Regions from separate parts of the Homo sapiens genome. Here region 1 is linked to region 2. Evidence: promoter capture Hi-C in human tissues and cell types (Jung and others, 2019). All regions are on one chromosome and are shown on one strand. Each heading gives the region's core, a stretch centred on a gene start or on the middle of the fragment in contact. The rest is flanking DNA. Distances are from core to core; before and after follow the strand shown. Region 1 overlaps C8A (complement C8 alpha chain). Region 2 holds the start of C8B (complement C8 beta chain).

Region 1 (6,279 bases), core at 7-2,506, 82 kb after region 2:
CGGGAAGCTGAGGCAGGAGAATCGCTTGAACCAGGGAGTCAGAGGTTGCGGTGAGCCGAGATCGCTCCAGCCTGGCAATAGAGCAAGACTCCGCCTCAAAAAAAAAAACAAACAAAAAAAAACAAAAAAGAAAGGATGCAAAAGGTCAGCTTTTAGTAGCTGTAAGAAATATATATATGTATTTACGTAAATATATATTTAAATAAATATATATTTACGGAAATATATATATATTTACTTAAATATATATTTAAATATATATTTAAATAAATATATATTTATTTAAATATATATTTAAATAAATATAAATATATATTTACATAAATATATATTTATGTAAATATATATTTAAATAAATATATTTATGTAAATATATATAAATATATATTTATGTAAATATATATTTATATATAAACACGTATATGAACATAAATACATGTAATTGGAGTACTACTATATTTCACAAGCACATACTAGGCACCAATGTGTGCCAGACTTCCCCCACACCTCCATCTCTGTTCCCATTGCCCCTGCCTAGGTCAAGTTCTCATCAGCTCTCACCTGGGTGAGCTACTACAATGGTTTCTTCATTGTGCTTCACCCTTCTGTTCTTCTCCCAATCTATTCCCACCCCCACACTTCTCCTAGTGCTAATCAAAGCACTGCATTGTGAAACCTCCTATGCTAATATTACATATCCATTAAAAACTGTGTTTAAGATATCTTTAGTGACATGCTGAAATGTCATTCAATTGAAGTTATTGAGCAAAGATCTACAATGCCTATAGTAGAATGCATTACACTAGGTGCAGAGGACATAATCTTGAATGAGATAGGCTCCTGCCCCCATGGAGTTTACATTCCAATAGTAATCTTGAACTAAGTAATAAAGAAAAGCAGCATCTTTATATAAAAAAATAAGAGATAGCACTGGAAGAATTTTGGATTGGTTTTACAGGAAGATGGCCATCTATGGGCTTTACTTTCAGGCAATAGAAGCCTTGATTCAAAGTGATGATGGAAGTTAGAGGAGTCCACATGCTTTTAGAAAAGTCCATATTAACACGCTACAGATAACCCTTGAACAATATAGGACTTTACCTTCAGCTCAATAGCTAATTCTTTGGCAAAGCTCTAGGACTCAATTTATGTGTGTTGAGTAAGTTGATTTTTATAACTATATTTTCATCATTCAAGATAATTTTTGAACCCCACCTTGATCCATAGTCTTGGTATTAATGCAATTGAGAATTTTTAGTAAGCTTCTAATTAATTCAATAAATATTCCCCTGGCCACCTGATTACATCTCCAACCTCATCACTCTCTGTTTTCCTTTCCCACCCTGTGCTTCAGCTGGCTGAAGTACTTTCAATCCCAAGTTTTTGTGTGGCTTCCTCATCTCCAGGCCCTCGCACATGCTGATTTCCATGCCTAGAGCACCTTTCTGCCAACTTTTGTCTCCCTTTGTCTGGACAATTTGCACTAATCTTTAGATCTAAGCTTAGATCAATGTTCTTTCCTCAAGGAAGCATATATTGACCCCCCAGGATAATAGGCACTTAATGGTGAAGGTTTACTGGAAAAATGAAATTTTTTTTTTTTTTTTTTTAGCATACCAGTCCTTCTATCTTTTTGGAAAAGCAAGGCTTGCTTTACAATTCTTCCAAGTGAAATTTAGAGGGTCTGGCTGTTTCTCTTAAAACATTACCATTCTACACATTTCCCTATATGCTCCAGGTAACCATAAAAAATGATGATGGGGGGGGCAAAGTGATAAGAGTCCTAGTCTTATCATTCAATTTTATTTCCTTTGTGATGATTCTGTGTGCAAAAGCGTAATAAGAAAAACAAACCTGATTACCACTGATCAGACATTTCCAATTACACAAGCAAATTAAGGTTCAATTACTACTGTACTTTTTAATGCAATTAAGGTAATACGTGTTCAGTGTATATTATGGAATACTGTGAGACACAGACATTATGTTTGAATACCTTCTCATTATACTTGTTTAATTCGTTCAAGAATGAAGTGTCTTGTGAGTGGGATACACCTACACCCACCAATAAAGGGCTGCCGGCTGGGCCTATGCCGATGGTCACTCCAAATGAGTCAGACTTGTCTTTTTTAACTTTGGAAAGAAGGTCATTTGCATTATCATAAAACTCTGAGGAGATTCCAGTATCTGCCAGGGCCTGAAAAAAAAAAGGATAGATATTAGCTTTGTGCACATAGAGCCATTTCTCAATTCATATTTAATACTTAAATCTTTGCTTTGTAAAATATCTAAAATTTTAGATTATGGTAGGTAATTCTTTTATAAGGCAATCCAGTCATTAGACTGATACTTATTAAAATATAGAAAACACAGCATTGTTAGTGTTTAGTGGTACTGATAAAATACTTATTTACACACCACATGTGCTTGCACACACACACACACACACACACAGATGCAGATGATTCTGATCAAATGCTATATTGCTCTGAGCGTGGATTTCTTTCTTGCTGGCTTATCCTTCCAGGAGAGAAGGCTGGCTGCTTGTCTTTGCAATAGTGAGATACAGAAAGCCACATCTGGGCAGGAGCCTGGGAGGAAAGAAGCAAAGGAAACCTGCAGATTTGGATTGTCTTAGGCAGTGGTATACAGGATTTCATTTCTCTGCTGTCTTGAACTGAGACATGGTCTTGGCCTTGTTTGAGCCAAAGAAGTAAGCCTTATGAGCCTGTGAGTAGTTTGCTCTGCAATCATGAGAGCATGTGTTGAAATGGAGCCTCCATTACCTTGAGTCCCTGAGTGTCTGTGATGGTCAGTTTCCTTTCTACTTTAGGGTGGACAAATAGCATAAGCAAGGTATTGTTGCTTCAGCTGCTGAGATTTGAGAATTCTTTGTTCCCAAAGCACTTAGTCCGTCTTGCCTGATACAGAGCCCCAAGACCTTCCTTGAGATTAGGAACATGGTGTTGTTTATGTCTTCCACCTTGATTTACCATTGGCCTGATAGAGAGTAGAGGTTGGAGTGGGGTTGGGGGAGCAAACTTCTTAAAAACAGGCCCTATAAGCTTGGCCTTATTTTCTGTCAGTATTTTGTTCAGAATCCTAGGATCCTACTATCTCTCTCTAGAAAGTGTATAATCTATCTCTTCTTCTAAATGTTGTGCAGCCTGGACTTAGTTCAGACAGATCTAGGTTTGGGTCTTGTCTTTGCCACCAACTGCAGTAGAGTTTGATCCTGACACTTTAACCCTTTGTGTTTCTTTTTCTTAATATCTAAAATGAGGCAATGATAATATCTATCCCATTGTGTTGTGAGGATTAAATGGGAGAATTTGTGTGAAAGTAGAAGATCTGACACATGTTAAGCATTCAATGATGTTCGCTGTGTGGATGTTTCACCCAAAGGATGAGTGGTAAGAAAATTAATGGCCATGAGTAGGCCCTTGACTGATCATGAGCTCCAAGTGACCAAGAGACCACCAAATTGTAGAGATGGAGAGAGTCTTAGTGATCGTCAGCAATTTGCAAGCATTTTTGTACAGAAGAACCCTTGCTTCATACAAAATCACATACAAAGAGCCAAGACATGAAAATGATCAGTGTGAGCTGCCTTTGGTGAAACAAAAGCACAGGTCTCAGAATCCTGCTCATCTATGCCCTGTCCTCCCCCACACTCTACAGATTAGAAAACTGGGCCCAAGGAGGGCAGTGAGTTAGCTGCTAACAGTCTTGTATATAGTCTAACAGAGCCACAACTTAGAAATAGGTTGTCTGATTGGCAGCCCAGATAATAGAGCCTCAGATCTATTTTACTGATTTTGGAATGGAGCCAAGATTTAACAGGTGGGTAGCCACATTTATGATCTGCCTCTCAGCACCCTTCGACACTAAGCATGTGTGGGGATGGGTATGAAGGAGACTTCAGACACCAGCAAACTTTATAGAAAACAAAAGCTTCCAGAGCAAGTCATCTCCACAAATAGGCCTCTGCCTCTCTGCCACCTACACCACAGTGGCCTCAGAGCCCCTCTGTTCAGACTTACTTCAAAGTGGTACTTCAGAAAGTTGTAGGGTTTCCGAAAGTATTTCTCATCATCTCCATAGTAGAGACGTTCACAGGTGGAGTCATATCGAAGCTCCCTCCATTCCCCATTGTATACCGTCTCACACTGGCCCCCATAATAACTGGCATCGTACACACTCTGAGCATCTTCCTGGGTCAGGATATTGTACCTACATGGAACAAAGCAGCTTCTAAATAGCTAGTGGATGCTGGGTTTTATACCTGGGTGATGGGATGATCTGTATATTAAACCACCATGGCACACGTTTACCTATGTGACAAACCTGCACATCCTGCGCATGTACCCCTGAACTTAAAATAAAAGTTGGAAATTAAAAAGCAAAAGCAAAAGCAGCTTTTAGGAGAGAGAATTAGAAAAGCAAGGTAGCATATAATGTCATCTTCTGAAAGATGTTGTAGCTGGTACAAGTAACAGTTTCTCAATCTATGTTCTGTGGAGCCCTGGGGTTCCTCCAAGAAGCTTATGGGCCACTTTAGGTAACACTTGGAGACTAAATGGGCTGGCCTGAGCCTTCAGATTTCCTTTACCCAGATCATCTAGACAGTCCTATTTAGCATCTAGAATCATATTCCCACATGGGAAGCAGCCCTAAATATTTGTTGAATAAGTTAGAGAAGAATATGTGCAATTATCATGAATCCAAGGGCAGCAGCCAGACAGTCTGGGCCCATTTCCCATCTCTGCCACATCTAGCTGTGTGACCTCAGGCATACCATTTAACCTCTCTGTGCCTCGGTTTAGTCATTTGTAAAAAGCAGTTCTTAAATACTACTGCCCTCATAGAGTTAAATGAGTTGAAACATGTAAAGAAATCATAATTGTGCTCAGCATACATTAAGGACTGAATAAAGGTTGCTATTGTAGCAATTGTTAGTATTAAGTATAATTCTTAGTATAGTATAAGGGCTCTGCTGCTACAAAAAAAAACTTTGAAATATTGGATGCAATTCATAGTGCTAAGGTTGAGACTCTAATCCTCAGAAAGGCCATTATCTTTGAGGCAGCATGGGACATTGGAGGGTGCACAGTTCAAAAGTCAGGGAGACTCCTGTTTAATTTCCAGCTTTGCCACTTACTAGCTGTATGACTTTGAACACAGTCTAGAAGCTCTCTGCATTTCATTTTCCTCATTTAAAGAATAGACATAATAATACCTACCTCTCATGGTTTTTGTGATGCTGAGAGTATGAAACTAAAACAGCAGTAAAGTACATATTAGGCATTCAACAAATTATACTTACTTTTCCCTAGCCCAACACTCTTCCAGAAATATTTCTCTATACTTTCCTTTCTAGAGTATTTAAAAATCATCAACCCGGGTTCCATGTTTTAGGATATGGATGGTTTTACCATATTCAGGTAAAATAATGTCAAGCAGATGAAATACAGCTTTAATTTTCTAAAAAGGGAAAGTTAACAGAACAAAAACTGTAGAGTTGGCTAAGAGTTCTAAGACCTGACAATCAAAGCCTCTTATGTTGCAGATAATGTAGTTATTGCTCGTTTTTTGTCTCTCAAACTCCTATTTAACCTTAAGGAGCCAACTCAAATGTTGCCTTCTGTCAACAGCCTTCTTTGAATGCTCTGGAAAGACTGCTGTTTCCTCCTCTGTGTTCCCAAGGGATGCAGTGACTACCTGTAGCATAGCGATCGTCATGATTGTTTATGGCCTCTGTGAAAAGGCACAAGGCAGGAAAGGAGCAGGGGATAAACTGCGAATAAAACCCACTTCAAAGGAATAAGTGGATAATTATAGAGCACCTGGCAGATTGTAGAAATTCAATGTATGTTAACTTCCTTTTTCTCTTTCTTTCTCCTTCTCTTTCTTCATATTAGTGGAAGTGATGTAATAATAACTACAGTAAATTGAATACATACTCTACTAGACGTTTAGCTTTCAACCTCACGACAACTTTGCAAATGCAGAAATTGAAGTTCAGAAAAATTAAATAACTTGTCTCTAGTCATAGCTGGATTTTTTCCTAGATTTTGTTGATAGTAAAATCTGGGTTCCTTCCCTTTACTTTCCCTGAAGTTTCTATCTTCCTGACCATTGAACATGTTTCTGCCTGTAGCTTATAAATACAGCCTCTTAATAGACTGAACAAAACTCAAAGAAACGGTAATCCCTAAGAGTATAATATAACCTCTAAGCATAAAGCCTATATATATTTGGAAAAGCTGGTTGTGAAAG
Region 2 (6,791 bases), core at 2,428-4,927:
TCACCATAAGACATTGTTCTGTCAACACATGCTTCCAAATCCACAGGACAGAAGACAGAAATGGACAGGGCACACTGGCTCTTAAGTGCTTCAGCCCGAAAGTGTCACATGTCTGTAAGAAATTGCCGAATGTCCACGAATTCCTTCCAAAATTGTAGGCATACCCCTTTGCAATGTGACTCTGCTCTTCCTCCCATCAACAGGTATAAGCTCTGTCTCTAGCTCTTGAATGTGGGCTTGGCCATTGCTTCAGCCAAGGAGACATTAAGAAACATCAGGCAAGCAGAAGTTTGGAAAGCACTTGTGCACTGGGGCTTGTCTTTTCTTGCTGCTTTTTGAAACCATTAGATCACCCTGAGATCAAGCCTGAGTTAGTCTATTTGGAGTCATGTGGCCCATTTACTTCATCACTTCAGCCAACAGCCAGTGCTAACTGACAGACAGAATGAATCATCAGGCAGGTGAGTAAGGCCATCCTGGACCAACCAGGCTCCTGCTGACCTACCAGTTGGCTGAACCAAGGCAAGGCCAGCACCCATTTTAGCCTAGGCCTATTTGATGACCCAAGGAATTGTGAGCTGATAAATGATGATTGTTTTAGTCTACAATTTTGGGATTATTTGTTATGCAGCAAAAGCTAACTAATACAAAAATAGGTACCAGGAGTGGAGTGCTGCCATAGCAGAAACATGAAAAGTGGCATTGGCTGTGGAACTGGGTGGAGCCTGGAAAATCAGTCAATAAAAGTTGGAAAAACAACAAACTGTTAGTGGATCCGCAGACCTAGAGTTACAAATTCCTTCATATCGTTTAAAGGCCTAGAGACATATGATCAGTTTCAAAGCTCTCGCATGGTCAGAGATGAGATCTATAGCCCTGAGTAAGAGCAGCTAGACCAGAAGAGCAGTGTGGTGTGATAACTGTGAAGACTTAAAGCAGTGCTGGCACATCCTAAGGGCAAGGGGAAGCTTCAGAGCTAGAAAAAGGAGCATTTAGGAGTCAGAAAAAAAAGTGTATCAAGCCAAAGATGTCCTACTAACCAGCTGTGGAAACAGCTGTGAAGCCCCATCTTAGAGGCTTGGAAGATGATATTATGTTTCTTGGCTTATTGTCAAAATCAAACAAGATGATGTATGGGAAAACTGTTAAATTGTTAAGAACTGTCCCTGAAAAATATGTGTATTACTATCACTAAAGCCTGAGGCTGCCGTCCTCCAGGCGGGATCTCAGGTGAGCTGCACTGGGAAACCACCAGGGGGCGCGATGAGGTTGGAACTCCGGGAGACCTGGGGGCGCCTGGAGCGTTAAGAACCCCAGGGGAATCTATTGGGAAGGCTTTCTTGAGCAAGTGACATTAATATAAAACTCGAATAATGAGTCGTATTTAGCTAAGTGGCACATACTCTGGACAGAAGGAACGGCATGCAAAAATCCTGGAGGTGAGAGAGCACAGGATTCACTCGTGTAACTGTCCTCTCTAAACCTGCAGGCTCCTCCGTGAGTACATCAGGTTGAGGAGGTCGAAGGGGAGCCCTGTCTTCTAAGGGTTTGGCTTCTCTTAAAGGCAGGCAGATAGGAGACAGGACATGGATCTTTCTTGAAACACAAGTTTCTGCTTGTTTACAAATGATTAACCACCACAATCAATTGCGTCAAAGTTCAGGTCAATTCATCCTTTGGGACAACGGTGACATGGAGTCTTGCACCTAGGCTTATGACAACTGGAATGCATCCTGGGTGGTCTGGCAGCAGAACTTGTGTTCTGTGTTTTGGACACAATTAATGTGAGAGGACTACCATCTTCTGTGGCTTTCCCATCCATCCCCTCACTATACTTCCTTATTTGATTCTCCAACCCCAACCCAGCTACTCGGCAGGGGTGGCAGGAGGGGGAGGCTTCCCGTTTTGTACGTTCAAACCCAAAACAAACTTATCAAGTAGGTAGTAATGAATTATTATCCCTATTTCACAGATGAGAAAACAGAGTCTTAGAGAAACTCTGTAACTGTGTTTAAGGAAAGCAAATCCAGTGTTCTTTCTACTAGCCCACCCTCATACCTTGCAAGCTGCCTCTCCCATGTGAGGTTCCTCACCCACATCTGCAATAGCAAAAGCAACAGGACGCCATCCAACACGTGGACTCAGCCCTTTATGCGTTGCAGGTTGGTTTTGTAAATGCCAGGTTGGTGCAGTTTGGACTTTAATATGTTGATTCTGGGGAGTCAGGGATGGTTTTCAGGAAGGTAGGTTTGAGAACCTCAGTCATTTGTATCTTTTGGGATGCAAACAATAACAACAACAGCACATATATATTTAGATAATTATTTTCATGTAGTTATTTCCTGGGTTTTTTTTGTTTTGTTTTGTTTTGTTTTATTTTGAGACGGAGTCTCGCTCTGTCACCCAGGCTGGAGTGCAGTGGCGCGATCTCGGCTCACTGCAAGCTCTGCCTCCCAGGTTCACGCCATTCTCCTGCCTCAGCCTCCCGAGTAGCTGGGACTACAGGCGCCCAACACCATGCCTGGCTAATTTTTTTTGTATTTTTGGTAGAGACGGGGTTTCACCATGTTAGCCAGGATGGTCTCGATTTCCTGACCTCGTGGTCCGCCCGCCGCGGCCTCCCAAAGTGTCATGTAGTTATTTCTATAATGCCTATTTGTTCAACAATTACACATTTAGTATTTGGTCTGACTCTCCCAACTGTGAGTGGTAAGTTGTCATAGTCCTCCTAATTTTACATATGAAGAAACAGAATCAGAGACAGTCAATAAAAATACCAGCTCACTTATAGAGAGTGCACATAGAATGTGCCAGGCAATGTTCAACATGTTTTGAACATGTTGTGAAGATTAAATAAATCTAATTTATTTAATAATAATAATTATAATTAATTATAATTACAATAATAATTAATAATAATCTAATTTATTTAATCTTCACAACAACCCGGTGAGGTTGGTATTATTATTATCCCTGTTTTATTGATGAAGGAACTTAGGCCCAGAGAGGGTTAGTAATTTTCTCTGGCCACACAGCTGGTGAATCATACAGAAGCAATTTGAAGTCAGGTAGATGGGTTCTAGAGCCCTACAGCCTCTTACTGACTTGCTCAACATCATGTAACTGGAAAGAGGCAAACATGGAATTCAAACCTTGGCCTGTCTGACTCCAAACCCTGAATTCTACTAAGTAATAATAGCTGACATATCTGAGCGCTGAACATAGGCCTGTTCTAAACATTTCCTTATATTAACGTGTTTAATTCTCACCACTTAGCAAGTAAGGAGAGTAAGGCACAGAAGTAAAGCAACTTGCCCATAGTCCAAAGCTGTTAGGTTGGTGCAAAAGTAATTGTGGTTTTTGCCATTAAAAGCAATGACAAAAACTGCAATTACTTTTGCACCAACCTAGTCAGTGGCAGAGAATGTACTTGAACCCAGGCTGTCTAGACCTAGATCCCACAGTCCTTGCCACCTCACTAATAGCCTGTCCACTTGGCAGCTTACCCTAAAGTTACAGAGGAATAAACACCATGCTGCTACAGATTTTTCATTATTCTGGTTGGTTTCCAGAGTGACAGGTAAGTTTTTGGTCTGTGCAAAGTCTGTTTCCAGTCACTAGTGGCTTTCTGTTTACTTTGCAGAGCTATTTGCTCTTGGGGACAGAAGCTGACAGTGGCACTCACAGCACAGGCTTGTTATGGGTCTAGCAGCCTCTGTGGCATCTCCTGTCACATTGGGAAAATGAAGAATTCCAGGACATGGGCTTGGAGGGCGCCGGTGGAGCTATTTCTTCTCTGTGCTGCCCTGGGCTGTCTCAGTTTGCCTGGCTCCAGGTAAGTGACAGTTACCAATAATTCCCTGATCAATAATATGACAGGGAAGGTGCAGCCACATGATGCTGACCATCTCTTTGTTGCATGCCTATTGAATGAGGAACGTCTCTTAAGGCAATTTGCATGCATCTGATAACATACTATCAACAACTCTTTTCAAATTATTGTGGAACCAAGTAGCTGATTTCAACAAAAGTTCCTGTAAGAAACTGACAGGTTTAAATGTATTTTGTCATGCTGAGAAGAATAGGATATTTTTTCTGTATTCTGAACAAAGCCTCCGTGTGATTCTTTATGAAAAAGAAAGTTTGTTACATACAGAGGACAAAAGAGCAAATTCATGAAATGATTTTAATAAATGAGATTGACCTACTCTACCTGCTCATCAACCCCAAATCTTCAGATTCTCAGGTTCTTTCCCACCCCCTTCTTACACACACACACACACACACACACACTCTCTCTCTCTCTCTCTCTCACCCCCCACAAGGTTCCCAGCAGTTAAATGCTGGCTGATTTATTTCATCATTGTTAGTCTCCATTAACAAGGTGCAAAACAAGCTAAAGAAAATATCCTAGTGGGAGCTCAAACTTGGGCTCCAGTGATAGAAGAGCCAGTGACGTAGCAATGTGGGGATGCTCCGTGTGCATGAGAAACCCCTGCCATGAGATGTTGAAGTGTGCATGTGTCCCCGGCCTCCATGTAAACACTCCTGTGGGAAGAGGGACTGTAATTCCATTCCTTTTACTTAGTCCAAAAATGAGATCTGAACAAACCTTTCACTTTATGTGAGGAGTACCTCCTACCCATGGGACACAGCCTCTGGTCTCAGTTCTGTTGAGCTGCCATTAGGAACCACAGGATGATGAGCATTCGTTCACTATCTATTGGCCACTCAATAAGTAACAGCTATTAGGATGATCAAGAAACTCCATTTAGCCCAGAGAATAACTAAGCTGCCAAGACCTTCCTTGTGTGTACTGTGTGTACACAGAGAAGCATTCAGGACCCAAGAAAATGTCTCCGGAATGGAGGACTTAAGGGAACCATAGCAACCCTATCTATAGCATTGTGCCCCTGGGTGGAGCTTTCTGTTGGGCTCTGAGGATACAGAGATGAGCCTATGTTCTCACAAAGAATGCCAACATGTGAGCATATGCTATGTGTACCGTTACAAAAGATGCTACGGGGCAGCCAGGAAACAAGGAGGGAATGATCAGCTCTACAGGGCATAGGGCCTGGAAAGGCTTCTAGAACAGAGAGTGTGAGGGCTGAATCTCTACAGGTGCGTGGGTGTTTGCCGAATGGCTAAGGGGTTGAAAGGTGTGCCAGGTAGAGGGAGCAGCACAGGCAACGGTGCGTGAGTGTGAGAGAGCTGGCTTGCTCCTGAAGCTTCCAGACACCTCAGTGGGCCTTGAACACAGGTCCCGGCAGGAAGTTGAGAGGGATGAGATAGAGTAGGAGTGAACAGGCATCATGTCATGGGCAGAGTTGGGGGATGCTGGAGTACCAGCTAAGGAACTTGAACTATATCCTCACCACAATGCATTGGGAAGCCATTGAAGAGTTGAAGCAAAGGAGTGACACGATCAAATATATATATTAGGAAGTTCACTCTGAGGTAGGGAGTGGAGGGGCAAATTGTTGATTAGAGTGCAGTCTGAGAAATTGTATTTAATTGTCACTACAACATCATGAGGTGGGTGTAATCTCTCCTTCTCGCTATGTAAGAGAACAAACTGATCCTCAGTGACAAGAAAAGATTCACGCATGTGTGGTGAGGTTTTCAAACCCTTACCTGAATCTGGGTATAGTTCTGACATCCACCTATAATCCCCATGGGGCTGTCTTGAACACGACAGGTATTTGAATTCCATCTGCGAGTAGAAGAATAGTCTTTGGTTCTGGAACAGAAAATGCTGAGACCACCTTCGTATTGGCCAAAAGAGTTTTTTGTTCTTACTTACTCTTGTAATCAAGTCAGATGATGAAATCACAATCACTGTGTCGTAAGACCTATTATGTATTGCCACTCTGTGCCAGCAACTTGGAAACATTAGCTATAATCCTCACAGCTATTCCAGGTAAGTGCTACTGTTTACAGTTTCACAGAGAGGGAAACAGAAAACATAAGTGTCCCAAGGCTATCCACTTAACAAACAGCTAACTATGGATTCAAATCCAGTTTCATTCAGGTCTCAGAGTCCCTGCACTCTCTCTGCATCCTTCTGCTTCTCACTAATGCGTTGTCCCCTCCCCACCCCCCACCACCCCCCAACCTCCACATTGTGTATCTGACTTGTTGGCCTCTGTGCTGTTTCTCCATCTCTGGGCCACACATTTGTTGCCTTGAGATGTTGCTTTAAATTTCATGTCTACCACAGCAAACGACAGAGAGAAGAGAAATTGAAAACCTGCCACCTAGAAGCTGCCCCTTCTAGCAAAGAAAAAGGATGCTGTTTGCAAAGGGGATGCAGCTGCTTAACAAATTGTGTGTGACAAGAAAGTTGTTGTGTCAGGGCATTTCTACCGAAAGCCAAAATATATTGACGCACCCCATCTATATAAGCTGATGGCTTGCAATTTACTGCTGACCCAATCCTGCTGTACTGGATGGATCCATCTTTATTTTGATCAGAGACGCCTGTTAGGAAAAGAGTGGGAGACCTGGGCCCAGTTAAATGTGTCCTAATGCTGGCTACAGCATTTTCTGCATCCCCAGGAAAGACACCTCCTTGCCAGTCCTTAAGTAGAGGGGGCACATGTTCAAGGAGCTGAGCAAGGGCGTTTACTGTAGCTCTATTTGCAATCGCAAAACATTGGGAAAATATAAATGTCCCTCAAAAAGAGAAGGAATAAATTAAATGCAATGTGTGTCATATGATAGAACATCCAGACAAAAGAAATGAACTAGATCTCTTTATGAATCAACATGGATAACTTCAGAAATGCAAT

What was found. Contacts are between HindIII fragments. The study calls those that stand out against the background at their distance.
Region 1: a fragment that was not itself captured here is called in contact with the fragment with the promoter of C8B in region 2 in 9 of the 25 tissues and cell types used here (H1 embryonic stem cells, IMR-90 fibroblasts, aorta and 6 more).

Annotation. Positions count from the first base shown.
Region 1 is chr1:56,879,399-56,885,677 of GRCh38, reverse strand. C8A (complement C8 alpha chain) reads right to left here. Exons shown (of 11, transcript NM_000562.3): 5 at 4,044-4,233; 6 at 1,997-2,197. Among named protein-coding and RNA genes, the nearest start is that of C8A, 28 kb to the right of the region's middle. The HindIII fragment of the contact is 5,987 bases long and covers 1-4,249 here.
Region 2 is chr1:56,962,901-56,969,691 of GRCh38, reverse strand. It overlaps C8B (complement C8 beta chain), which reads left to right and starts at 3,677. Exons shown (of 12, transcript NM_000066.4): 1 at 3,677-3,835. The coding sequence starts at 3,744. LOC112267900 (a long non-coding RNA gene) reads right to left here and starts at 5,720. Exons shown (of 8, transcript XR_007066117.1): 1 at 5,635-5,720; 2 at 1-112. The HindIII fragment of the contact is 9,311 bases long and covers 1-6,791 here.